4 separate regions of the Homo sapiens genome follow, and all the other regions are linked to region 2. The links are contacts of gene promoters, found by promoter capture Hi-C in human tissues and cell types (Jung and others, 2019). All regions are on one chromosome and are shown on one strand. The core of a region is centred on a gene start or on the middle of the fragment in contact, and the rest is flanking DNA. Distances in the headings are between cores, read along the strand shown.

Region 1 (3,219 bases), core at 212-2,711, 1.4 Mb after region 2:
GCTCTGGGTCTCTTAAGATGGCCCTGGTGTGCTAAGTGCACCAGAGGTAGGAACTCACCCACTGTCGCCATTACAGACAGAACGCTCCTAACAGAGAGCTTCCAAGAAACCCCAGGGCTTTCCTCGTCTGCTGGGACGTCTCTGTCTTCCTGTGCCTGCTCCTGCTGGATCCAGGATCCCAGGCTGGCTCCAACTCAAGATCTGCTGTTTCTCCTGTACTTGACACCTGGTTCTTTGGGCTGTTCCTTTGTTGATCTGTTATTGTTTACTTTTTAGTCGCCTTTGAATTACCAAACTAAGTCATTCTTGTAGCAAAATCTCAAGCACAGAAATGACTACATTAAAATGAGCCTTCCACCTCTCCTAATTCCTCCCCAACACTTCCCAACATCATCGCCATTAACAACTGTGTGTAGTCCTCTTATATTTTCCTTTCCTTAAATATAACTACATATCTACAGACAGGTCTTTGTTTTGATATGATTTTACAAACCTATGGAGTTATAGAATGGAGTTCATCTTATAACTCATCTCCCCCCACTACAAAAAATCTTGTGGTCATCTTTCCATGACAATACAAATTCTTACTATTTTTTCATAGCTATGGTAGCCTTGTAACTTATTTACTGATTTCCCTTTTTCAGCCATCTTCCTGTTGTTTTGCAAACCCAGGCCACCCAGCAACAATCTTCTTTATATACTGTCTTTTCATACTGACACTTCTCAGTCCTGTTGGATGAATTCCCAATGGTGCGATTGCTCATTTCTGACATTCTGTCTGCTGATCGTGGGCCACAGCACCGGTTGTCTCTTTCTCTGACTCAACCCAAGTCTGATGAGATTTCAGTTTCACTGCAGCATTGCAGCAATGAGAAAACATCCCATCATGCACTGCTTCTAGATATTGTCAAGAGAAGGGTATATTATTATGCAAAAGCAGTGTCTATTTACAGATGATGAAACGACAATTTTTCATGGGGTTTTTCTTTTTATTTAACATCTTAACTGTCAATTCCAACAAACACACTTGTTTTCCTCTATGACTAATCTAAGAACCAAGATGGCCAACAGCACAATACCAACTTTTTGTTTGTTTGGTTTTTAAATATGGCAAAATTATATATGAGCTTCCCATTTTACAGGTTTCTAAGAACATCTTAATGAAAATAACAGAACTCAGAAAATCCACTGTCATTTTGTCCAGAAATATTTTGTTAGCATTGGGATGCAGCAATGCCATTGACAAGAAACCCATGTGGACCACCTTTTAATGCTTAATGAGCCTTTCTTCCTAGCATGCATTCCAGTGGGAGAGAGGACAGAATAAACGTGATTAAATTATCGGACAGAAACACATGACTATAAATAATTGACTCTCCCATGTTTCATGAGCCTTAACCTCACACTTCAGAATGTTTATTTCCTTTATTTCAAAATGTTTGTTTACTTTTCTCCATGGACTTTAATTAATTTTGCCTTTGGCTTATAAACGGGTGAAACTAAAAACTTTTTTATTTGCATTTTTATCTTGAAGCAAGCTAACTAATTAAACTTTGCAATTTGGTTTCACTGTGCTGTACCAGAGCCATAGGAAAATGGCTGACAGATTCGCAGATTTGTGACCGTTTTTCTAATGAAGGAGATTTTGGAAATTTTGATGGTTTCATGTAAATGCTAAAGGTAAAACCTGTATTAAGAGTCACTTGATCACAGGAAGAAAAATAACCAAATGACTCAACTGCATAAGGAGGTGAAAGGAAGGATCTAGAAACTACATACCAGTAAACGTCCCCTGAGTACCACAAAAAGTGTAGAATGGAGTATGAGCATTGTAGTTTTCAATAGTGTTACTCAACTGGTAGAAAAGAGGAATGCCCAAGGCATAATTCACATAGATTTCAGTCTGATATGCAACAGGTTCTTCCATGAGATGTGAGGGCTTAAAAGAAAAGGTAGAGATTGAAGACGTTATCTTTTAAAAGATACTCACAGCACATTTAATTGATAGGGGATCAGTAACAAGATTATATAAAGAACTTCTAAACTCAATAAGATAGCAAAAAAAAGTAAAAAATAACTAAGAGATAAAAACAGTCATTTCACAGAATAAGAAAAATGACTAATGTATAAAAAACTGTTCACACTCATTGGCCATTGCTAAAATTCCAGTAACAATTAGATGTATTTATATAATTTTATGTCTTCCTGATTGGTAAATATTAAGCCTAGAAATGCCAAGCTTTGGCAATAACAGGAAAACAGAGACCCTCGCTGACTGCTGTTCAGAGAGTAAATTTGTACAACAACTTTGAAGAACAGTTTGTCATTATCTACCAAAGTGGAAGATGTGTAACCTATCCCTAAGATAATCTCTGCAAGGAATTCTCATTTATGCCCCTGGGCACAGAGACAAGAACACTCCTAGAAGCATTTCTAGCAATAGCAAAATAGGAAATGGCCTACATGCTCATTGATGGAAGCATAGCTCCGTACCCGGCAGTGTGTACGTCTGATGAACTGCAGCAAGGATGGTGGATCTCCAGGACATGCATATGTGGAAAACACAGTCTGCAGAAAAATACAAACAGATGATTTCATTTATATAGAGTTCAAAAAAACAGGAAAAACTATTAGGTTTAGAAACAGATAAGAAGTAAAACTATGAAGCAAAACAATGAATAATAGATTTAAAATTGCAGATAGCCTGAGTGCAGTGGCTTGCACCTGTAAACCCAGCATTTTGGGAGGCCGAGGCGGGAGGATTGCTTTAGCCTAGGATTTTGTCCAAGATCAGCCTGGGCAACATAGCGAGATGTTGTCTCTACAAATAATTAAAAAAAAAAAAAAAGTTGGGCATGGCGGCCCATGCCTATGGTCCTAGCTGCTTGGGATGCTTAAGCCTGGGCAGTCGAGGTTGCTGTGATCACTCCACTGCACTCCAGCCTGGGTGACAGAATTAGACCTTGTCTCAAAACACACACACACGCACACACACACACACACACACACACAGAACAAACACTGCAGATAGCCATTTTCCTAAGAGGAAAGGTAGCAGGCTAAGATCATGGAGGAACACACAGGAGCTGCAGTGGTATCGTAATGTGATATTTCTTAAGCTGGGTGGTGGATACAAGTGTTGACTGTACTATTTATTATACCTTGCTATATGTTGTATATGCATGTGTGTATATAGGTACATATACACATACATGTATA
Region 2 (3,512 bases), core at 754-3,253:
CTCAGCGAAGAGCCATAGCTAGTCCTGTCTCCCCACCTGGAAGCTGTTTTTCGAACGGAGCTAACTGCCAGGATGCTCTGGGCTGGTGAGGCCACAAGGATTGTGAGAGGTGCCCTGTGGCTCAGATGGCACCCAGGAAGGAATTGGGGTCTGTTGAGGGAGGGAGAGTTCAGGGCTAGCCAAAGGCAATTCCAGATCCCTGCCCCTAAGCTTCCTGGCCTGGAGCTGGTAACGTCTCCCTGACTCAAATGTCCATGTGGCTGGGAGGGCAGACAACAGTTGCCATCACTCCACGCAGACCCTCATAACTGCCTTGTTGTCCAACCCCACAGTCCCACAGCACAGTAATGGTTCACAAGACACTGCTTCCCACCCCTTCTCCCTTGGGTCTTGAGTTGGCTTTGAGCCCAGGTGGGCTCTGCCTCACCTCCCTTTACAGGGGATACGCTGCTGGGTCCCTTCCTTCCCGAGTCCTGCCTCCCCAACATCATCCACAAAAGGCATCCTCTCCCTTCCTCCTCCTGCCCCTCATTTAACTCCAGCACGTGTTTTGAGACAAGTCTATACTCCACTGGACACTTTGTTTTACACGACTTCCTCTTATTCTTCATTCTCCTCCTGTTTAAAAAACATGAATCACTAGCATTTATGAGGTTCCTTCTACTGTTCCAGGCAGGATATGATATTATTTTATAGCCAAAGGGATGAAGATCTAGGGAGGTGAAGTGACCCTCCCAAGACTATGTAATTAATAAGTAGTGGAGTTAAGATTAGATTTGAATAGAGGGAAACTGACCTCAAATAGAGAATGTTTCTCTCTAGCTATGCCAAAGTCCAGCCTTTATCACAACCTTGCCTCCCTCCAGCCAGGCATGTGGCCCACATGGGGCACGCCCTGAGCCCAGGTGCGGTGACCCCTCTCTGGCTTAGCACGGTTAGGTGGTGCTGTAGTTGCAGAGTGCTGGCTTTTAAGCCGCTTGTGAGTAAGGGATTTATTTTTTCCCAGCCTCAGTTTTTCTCTCTGTAAACTGACCATAATAATAACACCCACCTCAAACAGTTTTATAAGGTTGAAATGGGGTGAAAGTAGGAAAGATCTAGCACATAATGCACTAATTTTTTTTTTTTTTTTTGCCTAAAGCAGGCAGTGGAATAGAATGCTTAGGGGCATACAGCTCTGAGATCAGGCTGCAAGACTCCACTGCTGTGTGATCTTGACTAAGTCTCTTACCCTCTCTGTGTCCTGGTTTCCTCACCTGTAAAATTACTATAATACTAGAATCAACTTCATAAGGATATTGTATTCAAGGAGGATGAGAGGAGTCCCAGTGAATGGAGGCTGGCATAGAATAGGCTTACAATAAAGAGAAAGAACAAATAAGCAGCTATACACAGCCTCTGCCACAAAAAACTACCAATAGATATTAGCCGCTATTAGTTAATTGTCATTATTATCTCTCCCTGGCATGTTTCCACTCAGGCAAGACCAAAGCACTTTCCTCTACCAAGGAATATCTTCCTCTACTTTCATATCCCTCTCCATCCAACCCTTCAGCCTGCCTCAGTTGGGATTTGTAGGAGTCCTGAAGCTATGGACCAGATCAGAGGTGCCTTCCCTTCCAGAATCTATTTTCCAAACTTCATCGATTGCCTATATTTATATGCATGCATGCACACACACGCACACACACACACACACTCTCACTCACTCCCGAGTCAGAAAAAGGACTCAGCACCCAGACATACTGCAGGCTCTTGAAGAAGACAGTATTTTCCTGTGAGCTAGAGGATCTTCCTGTTATTCTCCATGCAGTTCAAATTCTGTCAATTATTATCCAGTTAGTCATCGCTCCAGAGGTGGACTGTCATTAAAAAAAAATAGAAGGTGTGTGTTTGTGGGTGAGTATGTGCATGTGTTGTGTATGCAGGGGGTGGGGAGGGGCGAGAGCGGTCAAATAGGAAGTGCCTTGGTATTTATGTTGAAGTGCACACTGGTTTAAATTACCCACTGGGAATATGATTATGCTTAATCTATGCTCAGTTGAAAGGGGCTGGGGCTGCTTTCTCCCCTCCCTTCTTGACTCTCTGTTCACAGAACTCAGGCTGCCTCCAGCCAGCCTTTGCCCGCTAGACTCACTGGCCCTGAGCACTTGAAGGTGCAGCAAGTCACTGAGAATGAGCACTTTCTTCTCGGACACAGCATGGATCTGCCTGGCTGTCCCCACAGTACTATGTGGGACAGTATTTTGCAAATACAAGAAGAGCTCAGGGCAGCTGTGGAGCTGGATGGTCTGCCTGGCAGGCCTCTGTGCAGTCTGCCTGCTCATCCTGTCCCCTTTTTGGGGCTTGATCCTCTTCTCGGTGTCATGCTTCCTCATGTATACTTACTTATCTGGCCAAGAATTGTTACCTGTGGATCAGAAGGCAGTCCTGGTGACAGGTAAGCAGACGGTGCTACAATTTTCACTGAGGGTATGATCTGAAACTTGCTTTGCCTTAGCAGGACTTTGTCAAATCTGGCTTAAAAATAAAATACTTGGCATGGAGTAAATGAAAGCCCTCACCCAAGTATTTTTCATGACACTGTTTTCGTTCCGTTTTTTCCAGGAGGTGCATTTGAAGGGGCTGGTAGTGGGAGGGAAGGAGAGGATGAAGTGCACCCAGACAATGATTTTGTTAAAATTTCCCAGGAATAAATATTAATAGGCAAAATGGCAATATTTCATGTGTTCTATTGTACCCAGGAATGTCCCATAGATTGTTTTTTAGGCTTAAATGGACTTTTGTTCTGACATCATTGTTTGGCCAGGTTCTCCACCTGGACTCTTCTTCCCTAGGTATGCAAGAACGCTTACAAGCCAAGTTCTACTTGTCCCTTGCTGTTTTGAAATATTGAAGGGATTCACTTACCTGGGCTGGAGACTTTGCAGTTTGCTTGGCTGCTGTCAAGAACCTTGTGTCCTGTCTGAACTGTTCCTCATTAGACCTCTAATGTTTCTTAATTGGACCAACTTGGCATCGTGTCCAACATTCAGTTGCCTGTTAGCTGAGCTGCCAGTTTTTCCCTTGTTTGTGTGTGTGTGTGTGTGTGTGTGTGTGTGTGTGTGTGTGTGTTTCCCCATTGCAAGTGTGAGGCCAAATTAAATTTCTTTGAGTTGTAAAATTTTTGCTTGGTTATGGAGTTTAAGCTTGGATAGGGCTGTAATTAGGATTATCCAGCGTTATCCTAACCCAGAAAGCCCTACCAAATAAAAAAAAAATCAGCTGTGGAATCATTTGGGGGAGATCATCACCCCTCTGACCATGATCCTCAGGGTGAAGGCAAGAATGGCATGGGGATGTGGTTGGGAGAAAATCTGGGGCTTGACAATTTGCAGAGAAACAGACTTTGTTTTTGGGTTAAAGTAAAATGCTTTCTTGAAACAAAATGCAAATTGGTGCTTGTTGGGGTTAGACAAGCCACAGAAAAGAAGCTTCTTTAAATTAATTTTTGAAAGTTTAGAGGGAGAAAA
Region 3 (3,143 bases), core at 453-2,952, 1.4 Mb after region 2:
CAGCTCCTGCTTTTCCTGATACGGTTTATGACTCACAGCTGCCACCAAGATGTCAGTTAGCTCTGTGACAGTGAAATGACTTCATTTCCCTGAACCCGGATAGAAACGGTGTCTGGGAAGAGAGAGAGTACCTGGTGGAGCCCTATGAGTAAATGTGATGATGATTCAGCTCTGGACCCTATACTCTACTCCAAAAGGAAATGTTTCAGGGCATCAGAGGGCATGAATTCATGAATGTGTATACGAGGCTTTGTTCAGGATATTTTTAAATATAGAAGTTCATTGATACAACATCCCTATGAGGTAGGGATTATTAAGAGGGCTTTATCTATAAGGAGGCTGGGATTGAGAGGGTTTGAATGATTTGGCCCAGGTCACACCATAAGAGCTGGGAGCGAGATGACAGAGTCTTTTTTGTCCACAAGCAAAATAGCCATGCCTGTACTTGCAGTCGGACCGGAGGAACACACAGGCCAACTCTGACGCAAAGCATGGTTATCACCATGCTCCTCCAATGCCACCTGCGTCTTAGCTCTGGGTTTATTATTCACTGAGTGCCTTAATGGGCACCTATCGTTTATTTTCCCTGGGCCTCAGTTACCTCATCCGTAAAATGAGACAAGAAGGTATTTGAGGTAGATGAACTTCAGGATCCCATCAGCCTTGACGAGTGCAGGATTCTATGTGAATCTAGATGAGATTTATCCAAGGACCTCCACATCCTGCCTCCCACCTCCATGAGCAGCTATTCCAAAGCTACCAGTCTGGTGATTCAGCCAAAGACCCATCATTAAAGAGCACAAAGACATCCTTGGCCAGTATCTTTCTGGATGCTGATGCTTTTCTCCTGAATTGCATGTCACCTTGGAGAACTCAGTGATGGATGAGAGAGATCCAGCTTTGACCTGGAAAACTTTCACATTGCAAGTTTTTTTTTTCTTTTTCTTTATAGATTTATAGTCAATACTTCAGCCTTTCTATGACAAGAAGCTTATATTTTTCTGGACTAGATGTAACAAACGACTTTCCAAGTGATCAGTGACATCCCAAGTTAGGGCTGCATTTTGAAATTGTTCTTTAGAATCTCTAACTTCATTGGGAACAGTGATATCAGAATGTTACCTTAATACTCTGCCAGAAAGGCATGGAGAAGATGTAAAATGTTTATAAATGAACATCCAGTGATGTGCACTTGGTAATTTCATTCAAAGATGTAAAGGAAGAGATACTATAAGGGACATTTCTGTTATTTTGTCAAATGCTATTATTTACTGAAAAATAAAATTTCACCCTATATGCTTGACCTTCAGGGACTTATTTTAAGATCATATGGCTTTTCCTAAACAGCTGAATTATTTAGTGAGATTGAACTCTCAAAGACTTTAAAATAAAGCCCACCAAAATACCAGCCACTCTGCAGTGCTACAGCTGTTCAGACCTCAATCTGCATATTTCATCTCAGCAGACTGAAGTTTGCAACTGAAAAATCGCTCAGAAAATACTTATCACCTTCCATGCCAAACGCAGAAAGGAATTTATTTGAAGCTGAGAATGTGATAGGGTGGGTGACTTACTCCCACAGTGATGCTTAGAATGGTGGATGGAGTTCTAGCTGCGTTTTTGCTGCTTCACCCCTGGGGAGGCCACGCCTCTGAGAAAGAGGCTGGGAGGCCCTTCCGCAACAGGTGTTCAGGTATGAGTGAAAGAATCTAAGGAGTGAGCTTGGAGCACTGCACCCACAGACAGGACCATCATTAGGAGCACATTCTCAGTGCGTGTTGAATGTTACGAAAAGGTTTGATTTATACATTTTTGACCTAAATAGAATTTAATCAAAATGTCTAGAGAATTTTTACGGGTTACTAGCCCCTCACTTTTTCTGAAGTACTAAAAGCAGAATCAGGAATTCAAGATTATCATGTTGAGTATAAAGCACTCTAGTCTTCCTAAAGGAATCAGTGTCAGACTGGGCTGGTGGTTCACACCTGTAATCCCAGCACTTAGGCAGGCTGAGGCAGGAGGACCACTTGAGCCTGGGAATTTGAGGCCAGCCTGGGCAACAGAGTGCGAAGTCCCTACGAAAAAAAAAAAAAAAAAAAAAAAAAAAAAAATATATATATATATATATATATATATATGGAGAGAAAGAGAGAGCGAGAGCAAGCCAGGCTTGGTGGCATGTGCCTGTAGTCCCAGCTACTCAGGAGGCTGAGGTGGGAGGATCATTTGAGCCCAGGAGGTTGAGACTGCAGTGAGCCAAGACTGCACCACTGCACTCCAGCCTGGGCAACAGAGGAAACCGTTTCTAAAAAAAAAAAAAAATCAATGGTACCTCCTATAGAGTCAGGTGATGGTGTTGATTATGATGATGATGGCAAAGACGGTGGTGAAGGTGATGGCGATGATCATGGTGATGATGATGGGCTGATGATGACTGTGATGATCATCATGGCAAAGATGACAATAGTGAGGTTGATGATGGTGAAGATACCAATAGCAACAATGAAGATGTGGCTGCTGATGTGACAAAGATGATGATGGTGATGGTGATGATGGCAACAGTGATGACAATGATGATGATGATAATGATGACCATAGTAATGATGATGATGATGACGATGATGGTAGAGGCTTACATTGATTGAACCCTTGCTAGGTAACAGATATGTTAAGCACTTAAGCCCTGAGTGTTCATTATCTTATTTAATCTTCAGCACCATCACATGAAGTACATGCTGTGATTTTCCCATTTTAAAGATATTGAAACTGAAGTTTAAACTCGGTAAGGAACTTGCTCAAGGACAATACTTCTTAAATTTTGCTATACATTAGAATCACCTGGAAAGATTTTTTAAAATCTTGACCCAGAGGTTGAGTAATGTGCTCAAGGGCACCCACCTGATGAGTGGCAGAACCAGGCTTTACAACCCAGTCACTGAGCACCAGAACCATGTCCTCTCTTGTGAAGAGCCAGTCATAGTGCCCAAGGAATTTTCAGGGCCATCATTGCTCATGTCCCTCCGGTGATGCTGTTTTTAATAATAGTAACTGGCGAGCTGGAGTATAATGTTTTGGGTAGCATGGCAGATCTTTGTGGGGCAGTGTGCTGAAACCAGCTTAAATCTCTGACTGCCGAGTTAATT
Region 4 (3,436 bases), core at 232-2,731, 1.1 Mb after region 2:
TCTCTGCATTTGGAAGTTTTGTAATAAAATGTTGGGAAAAATTAAGTTTAACTAAATATAAAATTATCATAAAAGACACAGGAGTTAGCATGCTGGCACAAAAACGCCTTTTAAATCATTTGTCTTGCATTTCAAGAGGGTGAATGGAGACAAAGTACGTAACTGGTTCTTGATTTTTTTGGTCATATTTTATTACAACCTGAATTCCTGTAAAGAAAGGAGACTCATATCCTGAAGAATGAAGACATCAAAAGCAAGGTGCTGTGGCAAGTTAGCCCTTGGTGGAGGGTTTTTCACAACTGGATATCCTGCTGTGTAGAACTGAATACCCACAGCAGGGTTATTCAGGCAGCTCCAGGGATGAGAGAAAGTGTCTTGACTGATACATAATTTATCTGTCTGCCAAGTAATTAGTTGGTTGGTAAGTAGCTAAACTACTAGAATTTGGGATCTGCTTTTCCGTAATACGAGGGAATCATATTACAACCCTGAGATTCCAAATCACTGCTACTCACTTAGATAGCAGGTGGGGAGTATAAGGGGGTGTATGACCCCCCCCCCCCCCCCCCCGCCCACAGACACACACAGGAGACAACCCGAGAGATCACTGCCAGCCCTGGGAAAATGAGTTTGCCTCCTAATTTCTGGCTCTTTTCCATGGTGCATTCTGCCCTAGACTATCTGTCATAGTTTTGGAAGACAAGGTAAAACACCCAGTCGTGAACATACTTGCTCATACCTGTGATTTTCTTTCCATTTTTGAACTCTAGACAGCAGGGAGGAGCTGACAGTGAGTGCTCTGGAGAGGAACATGCAGATCCCAAAGTGGCTTTTTCCCCTCCCCCTTCAAAGTATGACTATTTCAAAATTTGGGCCATAAATAATTTCTCAGTTTTACCAACTTTCACTGATAACTAATTGATTGCATCTTTAAAGATTTTTGAGTTCTTGGGCCCGATTGATTGAGAGCAGGGGACTTTAAATCTGTAAGCCAGCAGGGAGGTCTTTGGGAGATGTATTTTATTCTGTTTTATATTAAGTTTGAAAGACAAGTCATTTATGAAATGCTTATTAGAGATTCTGCTTTCATCACAAACCCTTTTCATCAAAACCAATGAAAGTACTTTTTTACAGAAAATCCTGTTTTAAAGACCCTATAAATTGGTAGAATGGGCATTTAGAAGGCCATCTTTAACCCAGGATAGAAGAAATATGTAACTGGGCCAAGTGCTGTTTGTAAAGGGAATCAACATTGATCATTAGACTAAATCATGAAAACCACTCAACCAGGACTCCGCTTTGATTGTGTCATGAACGTAAGTCAGACATGACGGTAATTTACATCAGCTTTGCCATGTTCCTCAGTGTTCTGTGCATCTGATTCTTAGAGGTCTCACTGCATCCAGATACTCTGTACCTGAGATTTATGCCCACCTATGCGAATAGGTGCCAAGGAGTCTGATAGTCTTGGAATTTAATTTGTTTTATTCTATTTAATAGCCATTTGCCTCACTTTGAAGACCCACGAAGACCAAGCTATATCCTTAGAGGCTGAACCAGAAAGCTGGTACTGAAGCCCCAGCACCTCTCCATCACCCCTCTCCTGAAATGCAGACTCAGGGTTACTTGCTGTTGCCTGATTGATTTTATGATCAGGCACTTACTGGGTTGTCTAGGGTAACCCAGTAATTGCTGTCATCCCTCTACCTCTTTTAAAATCTATTGTTTTGTGCCCTTTATCTATGTCTAACTATATACACTTTTCTCAGAAATTTACATCTGCTTAATTTCTACCCCCCACCCACCCCCCAACACCCCCCCCTTTTTTTTTTTTTGAGACAGAGTCTTTCTCTGTCACCAGGCTGGAGTGCATTGGTGCAATCTCTGCTCACTGCAACGTCCGCCTCCCAGCTTCAAGCAATTCTCCTGCTCAGCCTCCCTAACTGGGACTACAGGTGGATGCCACCACGCCCAGCTAATTTTTGTATTTTTTTAGTAGAGACAGGGTTTCACCATGTTGGCCAGACTCATCTGGATCCATCTGCCTCGGCCTCCCAAAGGGTGGGGATTACAAGCATGAGCACCTGGCCTTAATTTCCCCCTTTTAAGGCAACTAGCAGTTTTATTCAATAACTGAAACTTACCATAGGCTAGAGTATAGGAGAAAAATTGGAATACAGAGTATCTAAGATGCCTAAAGGCTCAGTGCTCAAAAATTCTTCTTGAGATGAACATCACAGTTTATTTCTACATTCAGCAGCCATAGCTACACATAAGCCTTTCCTATTTCCAAGTCTTTGAACTGTCAGTTCTTCCTGGGATACACCCTCTGTATCCTTATTCCTTAGGAGCAGCCCACATTCACACTCTAAGGCTGCACTGTCCCATGGAACATTGACATTATTGCAGGAAGTTCTGCCTCTACACAGCCCAATATGGTACCCACTAACCACATGTGGTCAATGCAGTTATAAAGTCTTTACTAATTTTAATTGGGGCTCAAAAAGTAACACTTCATTCCATTATTGGGACAACTTGGCAGTTGAATGTACCTTTTTCCTGATACATTTTAATCTATTTACAGATAAAATATTTTTTACTGAAAACGCAATGTCCACACTGAGATGTTTTGTAAGCGTAAAATACACATTGGATTTCAAAAGCTTATCACACGAACACAAAAAGAATGGAAAATGTCTCCTTAATAATCTTTGTATTGATTTCATTTGGAAACAAATCCCTTGTATTTCTTTTCACTTTTTTTTTAACGTGGCTGCCAGAAAAGTATTAAATTATTAATATGGCTCACGTATTTTTATCAGATGGTGCTAATGTAAATAAGGCCTATTTTTGATACAGTCTCTCCTCAGTGGAATTATGTTTTTGAGACAGAGTCTTGCTCTGTCACCCACACTGGAATGCAGTGGCGTGATCTGTGCTCACTGCAACCTCTGCCTCCGGGGTTCAAGAGATTCTCATGCCTCAGCCTCCCTAATAGCTGAGATTACAGGTATGCACCACCATGCCTGGCCAACTTTTGTATTTTTGGTAGAGATGGGGGTTCACCATATTGGTCAGGCTGGTCTCAAACTCCTGGCCTCAAGTGATCCACCTGCCTCGGCTGCCCAAAGTGCTGGGATTACAGGTGTGACCCACTGAGCCCGGCCCATGGAATTTTACTTGATCTCTTTTATACATTGTTTATACATCTTTGATGGCACTTAACACATTTTGAGAGACAATGTCCTTCCCTGCCTTCCCACTAACTGTAATTCATCAGATGCGGTGGCCCAGGACAGGGCCTAACACAGAGTAGCGACTCAAATATTCTCTGAATTGAATTCTAGCCATATGTATGGCTGATTAACATAGACATTCACTGCTTACTGATTAATTAAAGTGATCATAGCCTGCTTTGTTGTTAGAATGGAATTAA

What was found. Contacts are between HindIII fragments. The study calls those that stand out against the background at their distance.
Region 1: a fragment that was not itself captured here is called in contact with the fragment with the promoter of HSD17B2 in region 2 in 1 of the 25 tissues and cell types used here (dorsolateral prefrontal cortex).
Region 3: a fragment that was not itself captured here is called in contact with the fragment with the promoter of HSD17B2 in region 2 in 1 of the 25 tissues and cell types used here (mesenchymal stem cells).
Region 4: a contact is called between a fragment that was not itself captured here and the fragment with the promoter of HSD17B2 in region 2, in 1 of the 25 tissues and cell types used here (dorsolateral prefrontal cortex).

Annotation. Positions count from the first base shown.
Region 1 is chr16:83,458,010-83,461,228 of GRCh38, forward strand. The region is part of intron 6 of CDH13 (cadherin 13); the gene reads left to right. Among named protein-coding and RNA genes, the nearest start is that of MIR3182, 49 kb to the right of the region's middle. RefSeq lists an enhancer at 666-835. The HindIII fragment of the contact is 4,801 bases long and covers 1-3,219 here.
Region 2 is chr16:82,033,250-82,036,761 of GRCh38, forward strand. It overlaps HSD17B2 (hydroxysteroid 17-beta dehydrogenase 2), which reads left to right and starts at 2,004. Exons shown (of 5, transcript NM_002153.3): 1 at 2,004-2,440. The coding sequence starts at 2,176. The HindIII fragment of the contact is 4,836 bases long and covers 1-3,512 here.
Region 3 is chr16:83,441,626-83,444,768 of GRCh38, forward strand. The region is part of intron 6 of CDH13 (cadherin 13); the gene reads left to right. Among named protein-coding and RNA genes, the nearest start is that of CDH13-AS1, 44 kb to the left of the region's middle. The HindIII fragment of the contact is 3,864 bases long and covers 1-3,143 here.
Region 4 is chr16:83,130,632-83,134,067 of GRCh38, forward strand. All of the region lies in intron 4 of CDH13 (cadherin 13), which reads left to right. Among named protein-coding and RNA genes, the nearest start is that of CDH13-AS1, 270 kb to the right of the region's middle. The HindIII fragment of the contact is 4,415 bases long and covers 1-3,436 here.